Regions from separate parts of the Homo sapiens genome. Here all the other regions are linked to region 2. The links are contacts of gene promoters, found by promoter capture Hi-C in blood cells and fetal thymus (Javierre and others, 2016). All regions are on one chromosome and are shown on one strand. Each heading gives the region's core, a stretch centred on a gene start or on the middle of the fragment in contact. The rest is flanking DNA. Distances are from core to core; before and after follow the strand shown. Region 1 holds the start of OR7E24 (olfactory receptor family 7 subfamily E member 24). Region 2 holds the start of ZNF121 (zinc finger protein 121). Region 3 overlaps ZNF317 (zinc finger protein 317). Region 4 has its middle 20 kb from the start of OR7D4. Region 5 holds the start of OR7D2 (olfactory receptor family 7 subfamily D member 2). Region 6 has its middle 5.2 kb from the start of OR7G3.

Region 1 (3,612 bases), core at 892-3,391, 330 kb after region 2:
CTGGGATTATAGGCACGCACCACCATGCCTGGCTAATTTTTGTATTTTTAGTAAAGATGGGGTTTCACTATGTTGTCCAGGCTGGACTCCAACTCCTGACCTCAGGCGATCTGCCCACCTCAGCCTCCCAAAGTATTGGGATTACAGGTGTGAGCCACCGCGCCCGGCCATAATGTAAATTTCTACAGTGCTGAACAATAATGCGTTTTAAGAAGATATTTGAATGAATCACGTTGCCTGGTGCTACATTCTTTTGTAACTTACCCATTGTAGCTCCGTCCCTTTAGAAACATCATCACCTGAACTATTTCTGGTGCTTTTAAAATTCCTCAACCCACACAGGTCCAAGTAAATTTTGGTAATGACACCCAGGCCTCAGTATTTGTGAGGTCCCCAGGTGATTTCAATAAAACCAAATGTGAGGACCATTGATAGACATCATCATACGTAAGCTGCCTAAAGTGATTTCCTAGATGCGATTTGGACAGAAATTACACAGGAACTGTAGAAAGGGAGGTAAATACGAAGTACGATAAGTCCTCACTTAACATCCTCCACAGAAAATTAGAAACCACAATTCAAGCAAAACGATGAACCATGAAACCAATTTATTCATTTCTCACCAAAATTAAAACTAAACAACATTGAACAAAATGAACTTATTTCAGGACCTGCTGCGCTTTTTTTTTAAAGTTGCAGTTTCCAAAAACCTCTTGACAAAGTTAAGTGAGGATTTCAAGTCTATCAGAAAAGATTGTGATTGCACCTGGATATCAAGGTCATTGCACAGATACTAAAGGAGGCTGTCTAGGTATATTGGAATCATTCATGATGTGTATGATGAACAAAGGATACCAGAATACTCACCCATTGCAATTAAAGACAAAACAAAGCAAGCAATATTCACATACGAAACCCAGAGAGGAATGAAAGCCATCAAGCAACCAAAATAATGTGACCAAGGAGGCAGAATTTGCAGGCCTAGGTGTTAAATTTTGCTGCCATTTCTATCCCATATAACAAAAAGGATGGAGATGATGAGATTTGATGATTCTGCCATGCAGCCTGCACAGGGCACTTTGAATGTCCTTGTTCCTCAGGCTGTAGATGAAGGGGTTCAGCATGGGGGTGACCACAGTGTACATCACTGAAGCCACCATACTCTTCCTGGGGGATGGTAACACAGCTGAACTGAGGTACCCTACAAGCCCTGTTCCATAAAATAAGCAAACAACTGCCAGGTGAGAGCCACAGGTGGAGAAGGCTTTATACTTCCCATCTGATGTTGGAACTCTCAGAATGGGGGAAACAATTTTATAGTAAGAGAAAAGGATCCCTGAGATAGGGAGACAGCCAAATATGGCACCCATGAAATATATGACCATTTCATTGATGAAGGTGTCGGAACACCTAAGGTGGAGGAGTTGAGAAGGGTCACAGAAGAAATTAGAAATGTCCACATCCTTGAAGCAGGTGAGCTGTAACATAATCAAATTGTGCAACTGGGAGTCCAAAAGACTAATAAAAAAAGACAACAAGATTAAGAAGCCACAGAGGCGTGGGTTCATGATGATTCGGTAGTGCAGGGGGTGACAGATGGCCACAAACCGGTCATAGGCCATCACACTCAGGAGCATGTCATCCATACATGCAAAAAGGACAAAAAAAGACATCTGAGTCAGGCAGCCTTCATAGGAGATGACTCTGCTGTGAGTTTGCATGTCCACAATCATCTTGGGGACCGTGGTGGAGGTGAAACCGATGTCAGCCAAGGACAGGTTGGAGAGGAAGAAGTACATGGGGGTGTGGAGGTGGGAGTCAGAGCTGACAGCCAGGATGATGAGCAGGTTCCCCAGCACCGTGACCAGGTACATGGACAGGAACAGCCCAGCGAGGACCGGCTGCAGTTCTGGATCCTCTGAGAGTCCCAGGAGGAGGAATTCTGAGACACCTGTGAGATTCTGTGGCTCTGTGTAGCTCGGACACCTTTTGAGGAAAAAAAAAAAGAGAATTGGAAAATAGGACATAAGTAAACCAGCATCTAGCACTGTGTCTATATTTTGGATACAAGCAATTAAGAAATTAAGTTTTCACATAGGATTATACACCCTCAGCAATAGTTCTCAGTTGTGACAAACCCAATTTCCTTAGAGTTACTTCATAATTGATTTTGTGTTATTCACCTCTTTCTGTATACACTTAACTTAGAGACAGTCTATTGAAGAATGTTAGGAGAGCAAAAACATTAGAGATTTTAGAAATCCATGATCACGGTAAAATATAGCCTAATTTATCAGGAAAAAATATACAACAAAAATATTCTTGCCCCTTTAAGAAAAAGATTAAATCCATTGAAAGGATACTAAGAAGGAGTCAGCTATGTCTTGTTTTATTCTAATACAATTCTACAAATTCCATTGATTGAGGATATTTATCAACACTCAATGAGATCTAGGATCATGTTGTCTCAAAACTCAATGAAAGTTCATAGTTCATAGCCAGAAAACATCTTTACATACCAGTTATATTCTACGGTTTCCATCATTCTTACGTTTTCTGACTTTCATTCTTCATGGAAGTAAGTACTCACTCAAATATGTGGGCTTTCTTTTAAAATTCACTTAATTATAATTCCTGTCCTTGCCTTAGGTGGACTTGGAGTTTTGATAAGAAAGTAGCCCAGGGTGGTGGCTCACACCTGGAATCCTAGCACTTTGGGAGGCCAAGGCAGGAGGATTGCTTGAGGATGTGAGTTTAAGACCGGCCTGGAAAACACAGCAAAACCCCATCTTTACAAAAAACTAAAAAATTAGACAGGCATGGTGGCGCCGCCCTGTAGTCCCAGCTACTCAGGAGGCTGAGTCAGGAGAATCGCTTGAGCCCTGGAGTTCGAGGCTGCACTGAACCATGATCATACCACCGCACTCTAGGCAGAGTGGCAGAGTGAGACCTTGACTATTAAATCAATAAGTAATTAAAAGGAAGGTTTAGTTAAATGCACATAATTACCAGGACATCACTGATAGCAAAGATGTTGATAGTGTGCAACGTACCTGTGGATGACAGAACATTAATATAATGTTAAAATGCTTTTAATTTTTTTTTTTAAGACCTGAGTCTCGAAGTTTTGAGCCTGTCACCAGGCTGGAATGCAGTGGCATGATCTCAGCTCACTGCAGCCTCCGCCTCCTGGGTTCAAGCGATTCTTATGCCTCAGCTTCCCGAGTAGCTGGGACTACAGGCGCACGCCCCACCATGCACAGCTGATTTTTGTATTTTTAGTAGAGATGGAGTTTCACCATGTTGGCCAGGCTGGTCTCAAACTTCTGACCTCAAGTAATCTGCCCACCTCTGCCTTTCAAAGTGCTGGGATTACAGGTGTGAGCCACTGTGCCTGGCCAAGGTAATGTTAAAATACTTTGGCATTACTTTCGTTGTGGCTGGAATCATGTGAAACTCTAAAATGTATCTTGATCTAAACAATAAGGTTTACCTGCCCCCACTTCCTTCTGCATCCTTTTCTCTTTTTTTATGCCTGTAAAAATCTCTGCCATGGTCTTTAAGTAATTGAATGTTGTAGATGCTATTATTATGTGTCCATAATATAGACAC
Region 2 (3,291 bases), core at 642-3,141:
TTACAGGTATGAGCCACCGCGCCTGGCAAAATACCACATTTATGAACCAAATTCCTACATGTTCTTGGGTCTGTTTTTAGATATTTTATTAGTCTGTTTCTGCTTCATGTGCTAGTACCACATAGTTTTAATTATAGAGGCTTTATAGTATGTCTTATTTATTTTTATTTTAATATAATTTAATTATTTGCCTTGTGTGAAAACTGTTAATAGTATGTTTTAACATCTGCTGCTCATCATTGCTTTTGTTTTTGTTTTCTTGGTTATTATCAGATATTTATTCTTCCACATAAACTTTAGTATCAACGTACCTAACTCCAGAAAAAACTTTTAATATTTTTACTGGGATTATGTTACATTTCTGAATAAACCTGGGGAGAATGTCTGGTGTCAGTGCTATTTTACAATGTAGGAAATGTGGTCCTGGCCCATGTGGGAAGATCAGAAAAATAACAATAGAAATACATGTTTTTGGCCAGGCGTGGTGGCTCACATCTGTAATCCCAGCACTTTGGAAAGGTGAGGCAGGCGGATCATGAGGTCAGGAGTTCGAGACCAACTGGGCCAATATGGTGAAACCCTGTCTTTACTAAAAATACAAAAATTAGCCGGGCATGGCGGCGCCTGCCTGTAATCTCTGCTACTCAGGAGGCTGAGAGAGAAGAATCGCTTGAACCCGGGAGGCAGAGGTTGCAGTGAGCAAGATCGTGCCACTGCACTCCAGCCTGGGCAACAGAGCTAGACTCCATCTCAAAACAAAAACAAAAACATATTTAAAATTTTTTTTAAACAGAGACGGGGTCTTGCTGTATTGCCCAGGCTGGTCTCAAACTCCTGGCCTCAAACGATCCCTTGGCCTCCCAAATTGCTGGGATTATAGGCATAAGCCACCATACCCAGCCAGAAATACATACTTGATGAAGACAAAAAAAAATCAAGATTTACAGAAAATATTATTATATTGAAAACGTGGCCGGGTGCGGTGGCTCATGTCTATAATTCCAGCACTTTGGGAAGCTGAGGGAGACAGATCATTGGAGGTCAGGAGTTCGAGATCAGTCTGGCCATCATGGTGAAACTCTTCTCTACTAAAAGTACAAAAATTAGCTGGGCGTGGAGGCAGACATCTGTAATCCCAGCTACTCGGGAGGTTGAGGCAGGAGAATCACTTGAACCCGGGGGGCAGAGGTTACAGTGAGCCGAGGTCATGCCACTGCACTCCAGCCTGGGCAACAGAGTGAGATCTGTCTCAAAAAAAAATAAAAAATGAAAAAGAAAAACGAAAAAAGAAAACGCAATGGAACCAGCAGGTTCTAAAAAATAAAGAATGAAGAAATAAAGGCCTACAGAAAGCCTGACTGAATAGAAGAGATAGACCATGCCATTCACTGGCAGCTTTATCCATATGGAAGAATCATGGAAAGGCTCTAGGAACATGAGATGTATACAAACAAGCTTTATATATATGTATACACACATATATATTTTAATAAAGGATGTTGCTATTTTGCCCACGCTGGTCTTGAACTCTTGGACTCAAGCTATCCACCTGCCTTAGCCTCCCAAAGTGTTGGACTTACAGGCCTTAGCCACTGTGCCCACCTGGGAAAAGCTCTGCAGGAGCATCCCCTGGGGTGCGTCCCATCCCCCACGCCCGCCCTTCCAGCAGGTCCGGCCACCTGAACCGCCGGCTAGCCGGGTCCCACCTCTAAACCGCCCCCAAGTAAGGGCCTGTCCGCGCCCACCCGGGAAGAAACTACAATTTCTGTGTTTGACTGGGTCCTATGTGGCTGAAACTCGAACCCAGGAGCCCCGCCCGGCCCGAGGCTCGGAGCGGAAGTGACGTCAGCGCACAATCGCCATCTTTTCCGGCGCTGGCTCCGCATGGTCAGTGCCATTTCGCCTTTATCGTGGTGGAGTCCACCCTGGCTGTGGTGAGTTCCGCCTGCTTGGGGATCCCGGAGATAGCGGGGGGCGGCAAAGGAACGATTGGGTGCTGTCGCCCAGGAGCCTCTCCGATCCGCCTCGTTTCACTCTCTTCTCCAGGGGCTGTCGGTCCTCCTTGCGCGGCCAGTGGCTAGAGGCCGCAGGCTCAGTGGGTCCCAGTCAGGAGCCAGGTCGGGAAGTGTGTTTGTCCCGACTCCGCGCGTTTTCTGGAGTGGTTTCATCCGCTGTGCTCCCTTCTTCAAAAGCTTGGAAAGCAACCTTTGTGAGTTTCTTTCTTTCTGAAAGTAAAAGGATTTCTGCCGTTCCAGTCAGGTTGGCTCCGGCCCCGCATTTCCGCGCCTCAGGAACCTGGCGTTTCCGGCATGTTCCTGGTGAACACCTGCAGAAAATTGGTTTCAAGAGGGCTCTGACTTCCATTTCTTTGCTTAAAAATGTCTCGTCTGAGAATCTGGCATTGATGTCCTATTCTTATTTTTGACACATTACTTTCTGATGGAAAAAAAATAGTCGTTTAGGGTGTGCCTATATCTGCATGTAAATATGAACACGTGTAGACTGTGAGCCTTTAGTTTCTTATTTTATTTTCTTGGACTTAATGTTTTTTGTTGTTACCAGCTACAAGCCTTTCTACAAAAGAAAGGCAGGCTGGGCGCGCTGGCTCACGCCTGTAGTCCCAGCCATTTGGGAGGTCGAGGCGGGCAGATCACCTGAGGTCAGGAGTTCGAGACCAGCCTGGCCAACATGGTGAAACCCTGTCTCTACTAAAAATACAAAAAATTAGCCAGGCGCGATGGCGGGCGCCTGTAGTCCCAGCTACTCGGGAGGCTGAGGCAGGAGAATGGCGTGAACCCGGGAGGCGGAGCTTGCAGTGAGCCGAGATCGCGCCACTGCACTCCAGCCTGGGCAAAAGAGGGAGACTCCGTCTCACACACACAAAAAAAAAAAAAAAAAAAAAAAAGCCAGGCTTGGTGGCAGTCCCCTGTAATCCTAGCTACTTGGGAGGCTGAGGCAGGAGGATTGCTTGAACCTGAGAGGCCGAGGTTGCAGTGAGCCGAGATCTGCCACTGCACTCCAGCCTGGGCGATGAGAGCGAAACTCCGTCTCAAAAAAGAAAGAAAGGCAATAATACACAGCTGTTGTCTTTATCTGAAGTTCCTAGGTCTGTACCCCCCCACAGAGCTTCAAAACGGGCCCACAGGAAGAAAGGATGGAGGCTTTTGTTTGTTTTTTTCAGACGGAGTCTTGCTCTGTCGCCCAGGCTGGAGTGCAGTGGCGCGATCTCAGCTCACTGCAACCTCCACCTCCTGGGTTCAAGTGATTCTCCTGCCTCAGCCTCCGAGTAGC
Region 3 (3,521 bases), core at 888-3,387, 430 kb after region 2:
CATCTCCCAATTCAGTACACCCAGCATCCACTACCATCATCCCCATCCTCACAGAAAATACAATTTACTCCCGTGTCAGTGAATCCAGTAAATGCACTTCAGTCTTAGAGTCTCACGAAAATGTGGTGTCTATTTTCTTTGAGAATCATTCTCTATTCTCGGCTCCTCTACAACTGTCTCCTGGTTCTTTCCCTGCTTCTCTGGATCATCTGGACCATCCAGAGGTCCTCTTTCACCACTAAAGGCTGATTCTGCTCAAGAGCCATTCTTTACCCATTCCTTCGCATGCCTCATGCTTTGCCCAGGTAATCACATCCACTCATTTAACCTGAATCCCCATCTCTAACACTTAGGTTCCAGTAGGAACTCGAGATCTTATTCCCTTTGCCTAGGAAAAGCCACCAGTAAGACATCTCATACAAAAACCAGTTCCAGCCAGGTGCAGTGGCTCCCACCTGTAATCCCAGCACTTTGGGAGACCAAGGTGGGTGGATCACCTGAGGTCGAGAGTTCGAGACCAGCCTGACCAACATGGAGAAACCCCGTCTCTACTAAAAATACAAAGAATTAGCTGGGCATGGTGGTGCATGCCTGTAATCCCAGCTACTCGGGAGGCTGAGGCAGGAGAATCGCTTGAACCCGGGAGGCGGAGGTTGAGGTAAGCTGAGATCGTGCCATCACACTCTAGCCTGGGTGAGAGAGCGAGACTCAGTCTCAAACAAACAAACAAACAAACAAACAAACAAAAACAACTACCTTGACACACTAAACCTAGGGAAAGCAAAAGTGAAGAAATAAAGATTAAAGCAGAGACAAATGAAATAGAGAATAGGAGAATTAATGAAAACAAAAGTTGGTTCTTTCAAAAAGATCAACAAAGGTGACAAAACTACAGCTAGAATTACTAACAAAAAAAGATGCAAGTAACTAAAATCATCAGTGGAAGTGGGACATTACTACCGACCTTACGGAAATTCAAAGGGCTGTAAGAGAATGCCATGAACAATTATGCACCAACACATTAGATCATCTACACTAGCAGTCCCCACCCAATTTGGCATCAGAGACTGGTGTCATGGAAGACAATTTTTCCATGGATGGTGAGGTGAGGGGGGATGGTTTTGGGATGACTTGAGTGCATTACATTTATTGTGCACTTTATTTCTATTATTATTACATTGTAATATATGGTAAAATAATTATACAACTCACCATAATATAGAATTAGTGGAAGCCCTGAGAGTGTTTTCCTGAAACTAGATGGTCCCATCTGGAGGTGATGGGAGACACTGACAGATCATCAGGCATTAGATTTTCATAAGGAGTGTGCAATCTAGATCCCTTGCATGTGCAGTGCACAATAGGGTCTGCGCCCCTATGAGAATCTAATGCTGCTGATGATCTGACAGGAGGTGGAGTTCAGGGGTAATGTGAGTGATGGGGAGCCGCTGTAAATACAGATGAAGCTTCACTCACTTGCCCTCCGCTCACCTCCTGCGGCAGGGCCTTGTTCCTAAAAGGCCAGGGACCGGTACCTGTCTGTGGCCCAGGGCTTGGGGATCAATGCTCTAGATGTATCAAATTCCTTGAAACATACCCAAACAGGCTCTAGAAGAAAAAGAAAATTGAGAGACCTATAACAAGAGACTGAGGCAGTCATCAAAAGCCATTAAATAAAAAGTCCAGGACCAGCTGGGCACGGTGGCTCACGCCTGTAATCCCAGCATTTTGGGAGGCCGAGGCGGGTGGATCAGGAGGTCAGGAGATCGAGACCATCCTGGCTAACACGGTAAAACCCCATCTCTACTAAAAATACAAAAAATTAGCCAGGCGTGGTGATGAGTGCCTGTAGTCCCAGCTACTCGGGAGGCTGAGGCAGGAGAATGGTGTGAACCTGGGAGGCGGAGCTTGCAGTGAGCCGAGATTGCGCCACTGCACTCCAGCCTGGGCGACAGAGCAAGACTCCGTCTCAAAAAAAAAAAAAAAAAGTCCAGGACCAAGGGGCTTCACTGGTGAACCCTACCAAACATTTAGAATTAACATCAAGGACATTATCAAGAAAGTGAATGAGACACAGAATGGTGGAAAATATTTGCAAATCATGTATGTGATAGGGATTTAATATCATTATAAACTCAACAACAAAGACAACCCAGTAAAAAAGTGGGCAGGAGACTTGAACAGAACAGACATTTCTCCAAATTTACAGAAATGAACTGTAAACACATGAAAAGATGATTAACAACATCAGTCATTAAGGAAATAACATCAAAACCACAATACATTGGTGAGGTATGGTGGCCCACACCTCGGGAGGGGATTTAATTTGCTTTGTATGAACATGCCTCCTCTCTCTGGCTTCCACCGCGACTCTCATGACAGCACTGATGTAAGAACCGTGACGCTGCTACTTTAACATCTGACTCAGATCAATAATCAATATTACCACTTTTAAACATTACCAGGGTTATAACAATCTTTTTCAACATCAATTAGTATTTCTGCTATTGGAATTGTTTTAGATATTCAGAAACATTTCAAAACAATAATATAGGAAGTGTGTTTTAACGTATAAACTCTGCCTTGGGGATTCATTATTCAACACCAAATTTGATCTTGGGCCAACTCAAAGATGCATGACGCTTTCATTCTTTTTACAAAGCCCTTTTCTAGTCATTGTGCCTTTGGGTTCTGACATTAAGTCACTGCTGAGGAAGGGGAGAGAGGGTGACAGAGGCTCAGTTCCTGAGGCACAGTATCTCCATCCTCACCTACCATTCATTCATTCATGCTCAACTAACAAGCTTCTGCAGGTCCCATTCCACCTTTCCCCACCAACATTAATGCCAATTCTACAAATAACGACATGTGTAGTGTTTACAAGGTATGAGACATTCTCCTGAGTCTTTCCAGGGCCACTCCTATTTAATCCTCACAACCTCCCGGAATTATTCTCAAGTACCCAGAGAATAAGGCACCAAGGGTCCGAGACACTTGGTCAAGGTCATAGGTGGAAGTTGTGAGCCCAGCTGACGTGACTGCGGAGCCACATCTTGTTGCCTCTCAAAGTGACCTATGTCACCTGTACTGTCCCCTATGTGGGAACTCCTTGACACTACATCTTGACCCTTCCTTTGCCTGACCTCCTGACACATCATCTTGCTCACTATGAATCTATCTCCCTCTTCCTGGGAATGCCACTGCTCTTGCAGCCATAGCCCACTCATCCCAGTCTGTGCTCACATCTCTGGTTGCTCTTTTGAAGACTCTGGCTTGAGATCCCTCCTCTGCCCAGCCCCTAAAGGTCAGGGTTCCCCTGGGCCCCTCTCCCCCATCTCCCACAGGTCCACATTGTGAAACACCCCCACCATTTGGAGGTGCTGACACCCAGGTTCTGATTGCACTTCTGTGAAGGTCTCCCTGTCCCTGAGGCCTCAGTAGACTCCCCTTTAATGCAAGCCCACAGTTCTGCTCATTCCCCTCCCAAGAGTCAGTTCATCAAAACTCAGTTTTCTCATCTG
Region 4 (3,612 bases), core at 592-3,091, 380 kb after region 2:
ATATTATGGGTACATAGCAGGTGTATATATTTATGAATGACATGAGATATTTTGACACAGGCATACAAGGTACAATAATCGCATCAGGGTAAATGGGGTATCCATCACCTCATGCATTTATCCTTTCCTTGTGCCAAACAATCCAATTACTCTTAGCTATTTTAAAATGTACAATAAATTATTGTTGATTACAGTCACCTAATACTAGATCTCATTCATTGTCTCTAACTATACTTTTGTGTTGCTTAACCATCCTGCACTTTTCCCCTCACCCCCACTCCCCTTCCCAGCCTCTGGTAATCATCCTTCTACTCTCTATCTCCATGATTTCCATTGTTTTAATTTTTAGATCCCACAAATAAGTGAGAACGCGTGAAGCTTATCTTTCTGTGCCTGGCTTATTTCATTTAAATTGATGGCCCCCAGTTCCATCCAAGTTGTTGCAAATGACAGGATCTCTTCCTTTTTTATGGCTGCATAATGCTCTATTGTGCACATGTACACAATTTCTTTGTCCATTCATATGTTGAATGGATGGTGAATGCTTAGCTGCTTCCAAATCATGGCTATTGTGACTAGTGCTGTAATAAACATGGGAGTGCAGATATCTCTTCAATATATGGATTCCCTTATGGGGGGGTATATACTTAGCAATGGAATTGCTGTATCTTTTGTTTGTTTGTTTGTTTTGAGATGGAATCTCGCTCTGTCGCCTAGGCTAGAGTGCAGTGGCGCGACCTTGGCTCACTGCAACCTCCGCCTCCCAGGTCAAGCGATTCTCCTTCCTCAGCCTTCCGAGTAGCTGGGACTACCGGCGCCCGCCACCACGCTCGGCTAATTTTTTGTATTTTTAGTAGAGACAGGGTTTCACCATGTTAGCCAGGATGGTCTCGATCTCCTGACCTCGTGATCCACCCGCCTTGGCCTCCTAAAGTGCTGAGAATACAGGCATGAGCCACCGCACCTGGCCCGGAATTGCTGCATCTTATGGTAGCTCTATTTGTAGTATTTTGAGGAAACTCCAACTCGTTCTCCATAATGGATGGACTAACTTGCATTCCCACCAACAGTGTGCAATTGTTCCCCTTTCTCCACATCCTTGTGAGCATTTGCTATTGCCTGACTTTTTGATAAAAGCCATTCTAAATGGGGTGAGATGATATCTCCTTGTAGTTTCGATTTGCATTTCTCTCTCTCTCTTTTTTTTTTTTTGAGATGGAGTCTTGCTCTGTCACCCAGGCTGGAGTGCAGAGGCACGATCTCAGTTCACTGCAACCTCTGTCTCCCAGGTTCAAGTGATTCTCCTGCCTCAGCCTCCTGAGTAGCTGGGATTACAGGTGCCCACCACCATGCCCAGCTAATTTTTGTATTTTCAGTAGAGATGGGGTTTCACCATGTTGGCCAGGCTGGTCTCAAACTCCTGACCTCAAGTGATCCACCCGCCTCAGCCTCCCAAAGTGCTGGGATTACAGGCATGAGCCAATGCGCCTGACCTGCATTTCTCTTAAAAGAGATTTTTATTTCTGATGCCTCCTCTGTGTCAAGCAGGTTAGAGACTCTGGAGAATTAGAGATGAAAGAGACTCAGTTGTTTCTGTCACAATAATCAGTACTTAATTATATAAGGACAAAAATAAAATGTCCTGTGGGAAGTACAGAAACAGTAACTTCAGGTCACAGGATATTTCAGTTGAGTGATATAAAGATTAATCTTAAAATATTAATAACAATTTCTAGAATACACGTTGCCTTTACTTTATGCATCCATCACAAATAGATCCCACAGGGAGCCCCCATGATCTGCTTAATCAATACTGAATGTATCTGTGTCAACTAGAAATCAACTCAGGTGGCAATGTTGAGTCTCAGAAACACTAACATCTTGCCCCCTGCCACACAGATAAGTGGAATAACAGGATTTTAAAAAAATTATAGGTTGATGCAAAAGTAATTGAGGTTTTTGCCATTACTGTTGTCACCAACCTAATAAATGATCAGTCTCTGAGTCTCAGGCATGAACCTTTTTTATGTTTCCCAGCTATCAGAAAGTTGTAAGCAGAGGTAAGAGGTCTTAACCACAGGCACATCGGAGGTGCATTTTCAAACTGTTTCCAGATTCCTGAGTAGGAATGAGGCCAAAACTCTGATTTTATTTCTCCTTTCAGGAGGTGGAGAGCTGCAAGGAAAGCCAGGAACAGGGGCAAGGGAGAGATGCACCCTGAAGGATCCTGTGCCAGTTCTTTCTGGGATCTTTGATGTGATCTCAGCTGCCCTTTCTATACTTGATACAGTGAACGTAGCACCCACTGGTCTAGCTGTGGTCTACCAGGAACCCACTGGTAAGCAGTGAGCACACCAGGGGTCCAGAGTGACAGGGATTCGAGAGGGCAGGTTGGATGCAGGAAGAGGCCTAGCCAAATGCCATGTGCAAGGATTTAGATGGCCTGATTCAAACATGGCTTTACTCCTCTCTACTTCATGAAATACTACAAGTTACATAAAAATGCACAGCTCCTTTCCTCGTGCAAAATAATAATAATGTGTGCACTTATGGATTGCAGAAGGCTATGCAGATAAAATGAAACAAACCACATAGAACACAGAACTGGGCGCCTGGCATTCAGGAAGCCCTCAGGAAAAGTTCATGATGTCATAGTGACTGTCCTCTTCCTCCTCATCCTCATCATCAGCTTCATAATCCTTTTACAGTGTTCATGGAATAGCTTAGAGAGACCTATTTTTTCCTAGCTTCAGTGAGATGTCTATAGCAAGTAGAACCAGTGGAGGGAGAAAGTAAAACTTTGAGTGAGATTTCAGAGTCCCCACCACAATCAAGAACATAAACTCCACAGTTGTCTGAGCTGATATTTTGCACATTGATGTCCTCCTATCTGCCACTCCACTGTCCTGTTTGTCCTGAGGATGAGGAAAGAAGGCTCCCGACCATCCCTCAGCACTCACTGAGCTGCGCTTCCCCTCTGCTGGGCCATGATCATGGAGAGCAGGTCCGCTGTCCTCCCTGCGTGGTGCACGATGGAGGCTCAGGCTCCGTCCTCAGGACTGGCAGGAAGACAGGGTCAGACATGAGCCTCCTGATGCAGACGACAGGTGTGGAGCCCACTGGACTGGAAGCTCACACTGCAGGGCTGGAGGCACAGGCTGAGTATTCACTATGCTATGGCCTTGGGGGCTCAAGGCACAGAGCTCCTCATTAGCCAAATTGGCCCAAGTTCCCCAATCTCTAAGGACTTCCTCATAATAATTCAGGAAGAAGAAGAGAAAAATGAGTGTCCATAGAAGCTTTTGGGCTCTTCCTCTAATCAGGAGAAAGCTTGTGTGTATTATTCACTTTTTTCTTTTCTTTGTAAAGATCCAAATGCTTCAATTTTCATCTTTTATTGTGGTAAAATATACCATGTGTAAATATTAAAAAGTATAAATATATATTATTTTATATAGAAGGGTCAATATAAACAATTTCCACTATTTTTAAGTTTACAGTTTAATGACATTAAGTACATTTGTATTGTTTAGCAACCATCACCACCATCATCTCCAGAACATTTTTATCTTTCAAAATGGAAACTGTGCCCATTCAACAAACTCTCCATTC
Region 5 (3,445 bases), core at 252-2,751, 410 kb after region 2:
AGCAAGGCAGAAAAAGAAACCATGGTTTTAACATAAGCTAAAATTCATTTAATAAAATGTAACAGCCTGGCTGGGTGCTGTGACTCCTGCCTGTAATCCCAGCACTTTGAGAGGCTAAGGCAGGAGAAATTCTTGAGGCCAGGAGTTTGAGACCAGCCTAGACAACAAAATGAGACACTTGCCTCTACAAAAATAGATTTTTAAAAAATTAGCTACTTGGGAGGCCAAGGCAGGAGGTTTGCTTGAGCCCAGAAAGACCCTGTCTCAAAAAAAAAAAAAGTCAACTTAAACACAATTAATTACAACTAATCAGTGTCATCAGCTTTCTTATGTATCTGCAAACAGCCATGAGAAAAAATAAGAGGAAAAAAAGTCCATTCACAATTGCAATGATAATATATGTAACATCTGGTGCAGAGTGAACATTTAATACATACTTGTTTTGTTTTGCTTTGCTTTGTTGATTTTTTTTTTTTTAGACGGAGTTTTGTTCTTGTTGCCCAGGCTGAAGTGCAATGGTGCAATCTCAGCTCACTGCAACCTCTGCCTCCCAGGTTCAAGAAATTCCCCTGCCTCAGCCTCCCAAATGGCTGGGACTACAGGCACACACCACCATGCCCGGCTAATTTTGTATTTTTAGTAGAGACAGGGTTTCACCATGTTGGCCAGGATGGTCTCGATCTCTTGACCTTGTGATCCACCCGCCTCGGCCTCCTAAAGTTCTGGGATTATAGGCATGAGCCACTGCACCCGGCCGAGAACTATTATATTATACTAGAGAAGAAAAAGGAAGGTGTTAGCAGGTAGACTGAAAGGAATCCACTCAAGGAAGTGCCAGTTCCTACTGACATTGAGAAAGTCACTAGTTTCCAGAATGAAAGGCCATCAGAGGTGGAGGTGACAGAAACAGTTGCAATAGAATCTTTTTTTTTTTTTGAGACAGCGTCTCACTCACTCTGTCACCCAGGCTGGAGTGCAGTGGCGTGATCTTGGCTCATGGCAACCTCTGTCTCCCGGGTTCAAGCCATTCTCCTGACTCAGGCTCCCGAGTAGCTGGGATTACAGGCATCCGCCACCATGCCCAGCTAATTTTTGTATTTTTAGATGAGATGGGGTTTCACCAAGTTGGCCAGGCTTGTCTTAGACTCCTGGCCTCAAGCGATCCGCCTGCCTCAGCCTCCCAAAAGTTGCAATGCCTTAAGACATCTATAACCAGGTAAGGGAATCCTAGAGACATTTTAAAAATCATGAGACATTATCAACCCTGTTACCTCCATCTCTGTTCCTCCCCACACTACTTTTTAAATCCTTTTCACACACGGTACTAACAAGGATAGTGTGAGTCACTCAACTGACATTGCTTGAAAAAAAAAAATGCTGGTATGACGTCTTCCTCCCCTGACTGTTGAATGCTGAAGACAGAATCTAGCAGGGAAAGGCGGGGAGATGGAACTTGTCATGAAGTCATCCTAACTCTCCTCTCTAAGATGCATGAGTGTGGCGTCAGGAAACTGTCCAGGTGAGGTGTTTTAGGGAAGTATTTATGGTTTCTCAAGCCCCAGGGAGCTGATGTCTCATCCTTCCTCATTAAATCCACTGTTCCAGTGATGTTCTACTCTCCAACCCATTCGGCTCCCTTGGGATCAAGAGCAAATGGCAGAAAGGTATGATGTGTTCTAATTCTGTTTCCAAGAAGGCAGCTCTGAAGCCAGGTGACTCTCTCTGCACCTCCCACCCTCTTGGGGCCTCTTTATTCTTGGAAGAGCTTTCATCACTATTGGTTTGGCTTTGAGATAAAGAGGTTTTCCCCTCTGGAATGTGTCGCAGAAGCTACAAAGACCCATCTCTCTGTAATCCCAGTGCCTAAGGGTCTCAAGGTAACACAGAAGAAAATAGAGATGCAACTATTTCCGTGAATCCCCTGTGATCGCGTTGGCTGCAGGGCGTTAAACAGGCTGTGGACATGTCGTAAGTCCTGTTTCAAGAGAGGGAGAGTCAACCATTGCGAGATACAGCAAGATTTCTCTTCAAACAGCCTGCTCAGCTTCTTATTCTCTAATTCCAAGTACCCCCCCCACACACTTTCTTCTCCTTTTCTTCTTTCTGATTTTGCTGCATGCCCAGATATGCCATAGCCCCAGCTCACATTTCTTTCCTTATTTAAGAATAGACTAGCTGTCTATTCCTCTGTAGAAGACCCCTTCCTCCTCTCCTCTGTCTCCCATCACACACCCACCTTATCTAAGACAGTTTAAATGTGTAACCAATCAAGTCTAGTTTAGATTGTGCTGTCCGACCCCAGCCAATGGGGAAAGGACACACAAAGTCAAGAGTCGCATTAAGAATAAAAGTTGCTACTCTCCTTTGTTCAGGGTGCTCTTGTAGCAGCCAACCCTACGAGAAGCACCCTTCTGCGCAGAAGTAAATTTGCTTTGCTGAGAAATCCTTTGTTTGAGTGCTCATTTTTCTTTATGACTCCAAGATTTATTTCTAACAACCATGTAAAACGATGCTATAAGGCTAAGCAAAATAAAGGCTGAAGAATATCCATCACATTTAATGGCATGGAAAACATTAGAAACAGCGATCTGGGTAGAGTGATGGGGAAAATTTCATTGATGGCAAGTTTGGGAGGAACTGAACAATAAGAAAAAAGTTTTTTTCAATTTTTAAAATGATGGTAAAATATACATAACATACAGTTCACCATCTTAACCATTTTAAGTGTACTATTCAGTGGCATTAAGTATATTCACAGCAGCCATCACTATCCTCCATATTCAGAATCTTCTCATCTCCCCAAGCTGAAACTCTGTCCCGTAACACTCATCCCTCATTCACCCTCCCCAGCCCCTAATGAACCACCATACCACTTTCTGTCTCTATAATTCTGACTGTGGTACCTACTTCATAGACGGAAGTATACACTGTTTGTCTTTTTGTGACTGACTTATTTCATTTAAGTGAAATATTGCCAAGGTTCATGTATGCTGTATATGTGTCCGAATGTTCTTTCTCTCTCTCTCTCCTCTCTCTTTTTTTTTCTTTCTTCTTTTTTGTCAGGGTCTTACTCTGTCACCTAGGCTGGAGTGCAGTGGCACAATCATAGCTCATTACAATCCCAAAGACCTGAGATCAAGCAATCCTCCCACATCAGTCTCCCAATTAGCTAATTTGTTTTTTATTTTTTGTTGTTTTTCTATTTATTATTATTATTATTTTTATATTATTATTTTGAGACAAAGCCTCACTCTTGTCGCCCAGGCTGGAATGCAACTTCCACCTCCGAGGTTCAAGCGATTCTCCTGCCTCAGCCTCCCGAGTAGCTGGGATTACACGTGTGCGCCACCATGTCCGGCTAATTTTTGTATTTTTAGTAGAGATGGGGTTTCACCATGTTGGCCGGGCTGGTCTCATATTCCTGGCCTTGAGTGATCCTCCCGCC
Region 6 (3,599 bases), core at 1,077-3,576, 450 kb after region 2:
AAAGCAGAGAACATTTACTATGAGTTTCCTCATATAGCTTCAGCTTTCCCTATCTTTCACTTTTTACCTATCATTTCCTACTTAGGATCTTAAAGACCTGTCTTCTTTCTGACACCCAGGCTTGAGTGTGGTGGCACGATCTCTGTTCACTGTAACCTCCACCTCCCAGGTTCAAGTGATTCTCCTGCCTCAGCCCCCCAAGTAGCTGGGATTACAGGCACCCACCACCACACCTGGCTAATTTTTGTATTTTTAGTAGAGACGGGGTTTCACCATGTTGGCCAGGCTGGTCTCAAACTCCTGACCTCAAATGATCTGCCTCTTCGGCCTCCCAAAGTGCTGGGATTACAGGCGTGAGCCACCACGCTTGGCCTTTTTTTTGAAAGAACTGTCTTCTTAAAGACCTGTTCTCCTTAATATTTACGTTGGAAGCCATTGTCTAATTCTTTCTCATTTTTCATACATAATAGCTTTTGCCTGTCAATGTAATTTCCAATCGTAATAGAATCATTCCTTAGTAAACTACATAAAATATCAAACGATGGAAGTATCATTCCTTTGATTATGAATGCAGACATTTTTCCCCTTGTCTTCCCAAGTTTAGGGTCAATATTTAAAGAGAAACCCACACAGGCCCCATTTTTTGTCACCATCACTGCACCATTTCATACCCTATCAACTTTAGGTTTTGTTCTTCATTTGTTTCAGACTGGGTTTGGGCTTTATCTGCATTTTGTCAACATTATGTCACCATTTCTTTTCCAAAAACTTACTGTACTAGGCCATTATTGTGTTGGTATAAAGAAATACCTGATGCCAGGTGCGGTGGCTCGTGCCTATAGTTCCAGCACTTTGGGAGGCCGAGGTGTGTGGATCACTTGAAGTCAGGAGTTTGAGACCAGCATGGCCAACATGGTGAAACCTCGTCTCTACTGAAAATATAAAAATTTGCCAGGTGTCGTGTGTGCCTGTAATCCTAGCTACTCTACTCAGGAGGCTGAGGCAGGAGAATCGCTTGAACCTGGGAGGCGGAGGTTGCAGTGAGCTGAGATCACGCCACTGCACTCCAGCCAGGGCGCAGAGTGAGACTTGGTTTGAAAAAAAAAAAAAAAAAAAAAAGCAATTTCTGACTCAGAGAAAGCTGGGATTCTGTCTAAGGAGGATTCCACCAGCTCCCTAGGGGTCCGATCCTAGGATCCAAGAATGAGATACCCTCGGGATAAGAGGAAATGTGGTTGGAAGAGAATGACATACAGCTTGTCCCTTGGGGTCAGAAAGTCAACCATCCAGGAATTCCCCCTTTGTGCTCACGTCTGACCTGTGCTCATTAAGGATTTGAGCTGCCTTAGGGGAAGAAATGACAGTACTGTACACATCTAGCTAATGAGCAGCTTTGAAAATTGAGCTCCTAGGGGCCACAGAGACTGCAAATAATCTACCGGTGACCACTCCACTCAACAGCCCCGCTCATGTTAGGAAACATCACACCTGAGTCTTGCTCCAGAGATGATCCCTCTTGCCCAAGAGTGGGTTGCCTTACTTGGTTCATCTGCCCTTCTTGGGGATAGATCTTCCATTTCATCTTACAATTCTCCAAGAAAAAAAATGGAGAATTCCTTACTGATGCCTTCAAGGTAATCTGAAATGCTCCCAATAAATGCTGTGAGAAACTGAACAAGTTTTTTATTTTATTTTTTCTCCCATCTTATCTGGAGGACAACCATAAAGTAAGAGACAATTCAGCAGAATTGTTATAAGTGAGATTCCAAACTAATCGGTGACCCTTTTCATGATATATTTACTTCCCCTGTTTTCTTACAATTTATAATCAGATTTCATTATTTTCAGCTCTCATTCTGTCTTCTAAATCCTAGGGACTCCTTCCCTACCTAAGTATGAATTAGTCCCTTCAAAAAGGAATCTGGCCAAGTGCGGTGGCTCACGCATGTAGTCCCAGCACTTTGGGAACCAAGGCGGATCAATCACCTGAGGTCAGGAGTTCAAGACCAGCCTGGCCAACATGGTGAAACCCCATCTCTACTAAAAATACAAAAATTTAGCCGGGCATGGTGGCATGCACCTGTAATCCCAGCTACTCAGGAGGCTGAGGCAGGAGAATCGCTTGAACCCGGGAGGCAGAGGTTGCAGTGAGCTGAGATGGCACCACTGCATTCCAGCCTGGTGACAGAGCAAGACTCTGTCTCATAAAACAAACAAATAAACAAAAGGAATCTACAGTTCTCTGGTTTTCCACATTCTTTTTTTTATTTTTTGAGAAGGAGTCTCGCTCTGTCACCAGGCTGGAGTGCAGTGGCTCCATCTCAGTTCACTGCAACCTCCGCCTCCTGGGTTCCAGCGATTCTCCTGCCTCAGCCTTTTGAGTAGCTGGGATTACAGGCGCCCACCACCATGCCTGGCTAACTTTTGTATTTTTAGTAGAGATGGGGTTTCACCAAGTTGGCCAGGATGGTCTTGATCTCTTGACCTCGTGATCCGCCCACTTTGGCCTCCCAAAGTGCTGGAATTACAGACATGAGCCACCATGCCTGGCCCCATGGTTTTCCTCATTCTTTTGACTGCAGATGGGGCTTTGATGAGATGTGTCTGGCTTTTCAATCTTCACCATGTCTGTTGCCAGATTTCACCCTTAAATAACTTGACTCTTGTCCCCATCTCTTGACAGTGAGAAACTCCAGAAGAGGAAGTTGAGACCCACTCACTTACATTTCCAGTCTTTCGGTTTCTCTTTTAAAACCCCAAAACAGGCCAGATGTGGTGGTTCATGCCTGTAATCCTAGCACTTTGGGCTTACAGGCATGGGCAACATAGCAACATAGCCTGGGCAACATAGCAAGAGCTCATCTCTGCAAAAAAAAAAAATTTTTTTTAATTTTAAAAATAGATTTAAAATACTAAATATAATAATAATAACAATAAAGTATAACACTTAAACATGAAGTCCTCTTGATTTGTTTTTATTCCTCTCCTTCCCTTCCTGGGGACCACCACTCTCTGAAATTGGTGGGCATTCACTATGCTTAGTTTAACACTATTATTACATGTAATAATAGTGCCATAATTTGTGTATCTATCCCCATACTGATGTTTGTTTAGCTTCTTTCTTTCTTACTTTATTTTGAGACAGGATCTCACTCTGTCACCCAGACTGGAGTACAGTGGCTCAATCACGGCTCACAACAACCTCGACCTCCTGAGCTCAGGTGATCCTCCTACCTCAGCCTCCTGAGTAGCTAGGACTATAGGTGCATGCCACCATGCCTGACTAGTTTTTGTATTTTTTGTAGAGATGGGGTTTCACCATGTTGCCCAGGCTGGTCTCTAACTCCTGGGCTGAAGTGATCTGCCTGCCTCTACCTCCCAAAATGCTAGGATTACAGGCGCGAGCCACTGCGCCTGGCTTTTTCTTTTTTCTTTTTCTTTTCTCTGAGACAGCATCTTGCTCTGTCACCCAGGCTAGATAGAGTACAGACACACAACCCAGGCTGGTCTCAAACTCCTGGGCTCAAGTGATCCTCCCACCTCGGCCTTCCAAAGTGCTGGGATTACAGGCTTGAGCCACTGTGTCAAGCCCAGTTCTT

Evidence for each region. Contacts are between HindIII fragments. The CHiCAGO score rates a contact against its expected background, and 5 or more counts as called.
Region 1: a contact is called between the fragment with the promoter of OR7E24 here and the fragment with the promoter of ZNF121 in region 2, in 1 of 17 cell types (M2 macrophages). The highest score is 5.9, in M2 macrophages.
Region 3: a fragment that was not itself captured here is called in contact with the fragment with the promoter of ZNF121 in region 2 in 5 of 17 cell types (M0 macrophages, naive B cells, total B cells and 2 more); the score reaches 6.6 in M0 macrophages.
Region 4: a contact is called between a fragment that was not itself captured here and the fragment with the promoter of ZNF121 in region 2, in 3 of 17 cell types (M0 macrophages, non-activated CD4 T cells and naive CD4 T cells). The highest score is 8.1, in M0 macrophages.
Region 5: the fragment with the promoter of OR7D2 here is called in contact with the fragment with the promoter of ZNF121 in region 2 in 1 of 17 cell types (total CD8 T cells); the score reaches 6.0 in total CD8 T cells.
Region 6: a contact is called between a fragment that was not itself captured here and the fragment with the promoter of ZNF121 in region 2, in 8 of 17 cell types (M0 macrophages, naive B cells, endothelial precursors and 5 more). The highest score is 11.0, in M0 macrophages.

Annotation. Positions count from the first base shown.
Region 1 is chr19:9,249,459-9,253,070 of GRCh38, reverse strand. OR7E24 (olfactory receptor family 7 subfamily E member 24) reads right to left here and starts at 2,141. Exons shown (of 1, transcript NM_001079935.2): 1 at 446-2,141. The coding sequence starts at 2,027. The coding sequence ends at 1,008. The HindIII fragment of the contact is 19,830 bases long and covers 1-3,612 here.
Region 2 is chr19:9,583,104-9,586,394 of GRCh38, reverse strand. It overlaps ZNF121 (zinc finger protein 121), which reads left to right and starts at 1,891. Exons shown (of 4, transcript NM_001008727.5): 1 at 1,891-1,934. RefSeq lists enhancers at 1,501-2,312, 3,127-3,291. The HindIII fragment of the contact is 737 bases long and covers 1,458-2,194 here.
Region 3 is chr19:9,150,375-9,153,895 of GRCh38, reverse strand. The region is part of intron 1 of ZNF317 (zinc finger protein 317); the gene reads right to left. Among named protein-coding and RNA genes, the nearest start is that of ZNF317, 12 kb to the right of the region's middle. The HindIII fragment of the contact is 1,338 bases long and covers 1,469-2,806 here.
Region 4 is chr19:9,197,872-9,201,483 of GRCh38, reverse strand. No RefSeq gene overlaps it. Among named protein-coding and RNA genes, the nearest start is that of OR7D4, 20 kb to the left of the region's middle. The HindIII fragment of the contact is 2,921 bases long and covers 381-3,301 here.
Region 5 is chr19:9,177,035-9,180,479 of GRCh38, reverse strand. OR7D2 (olfactory receptor family 7 subfamily D member 2) reads right to left here and starts at 1,501. Exons shown (of 3, transcript NM_175883.4): 1 at 1,357-1,501. The HindIII fragment of the contact is 28,883 bases long and covers 1-3,445 here.
Region 6 is chr19:9,130,301-9,133,899 of GRCh38, reverse strand. No RefSeq gene overlaps it. Among named protein-coding and RNA genes, the nearest start is that of OR7G3, 5.2 kb to the right of the region's middle. The HindIII fragment of the contact is 4,665 bases long and covers 1-3,599 here.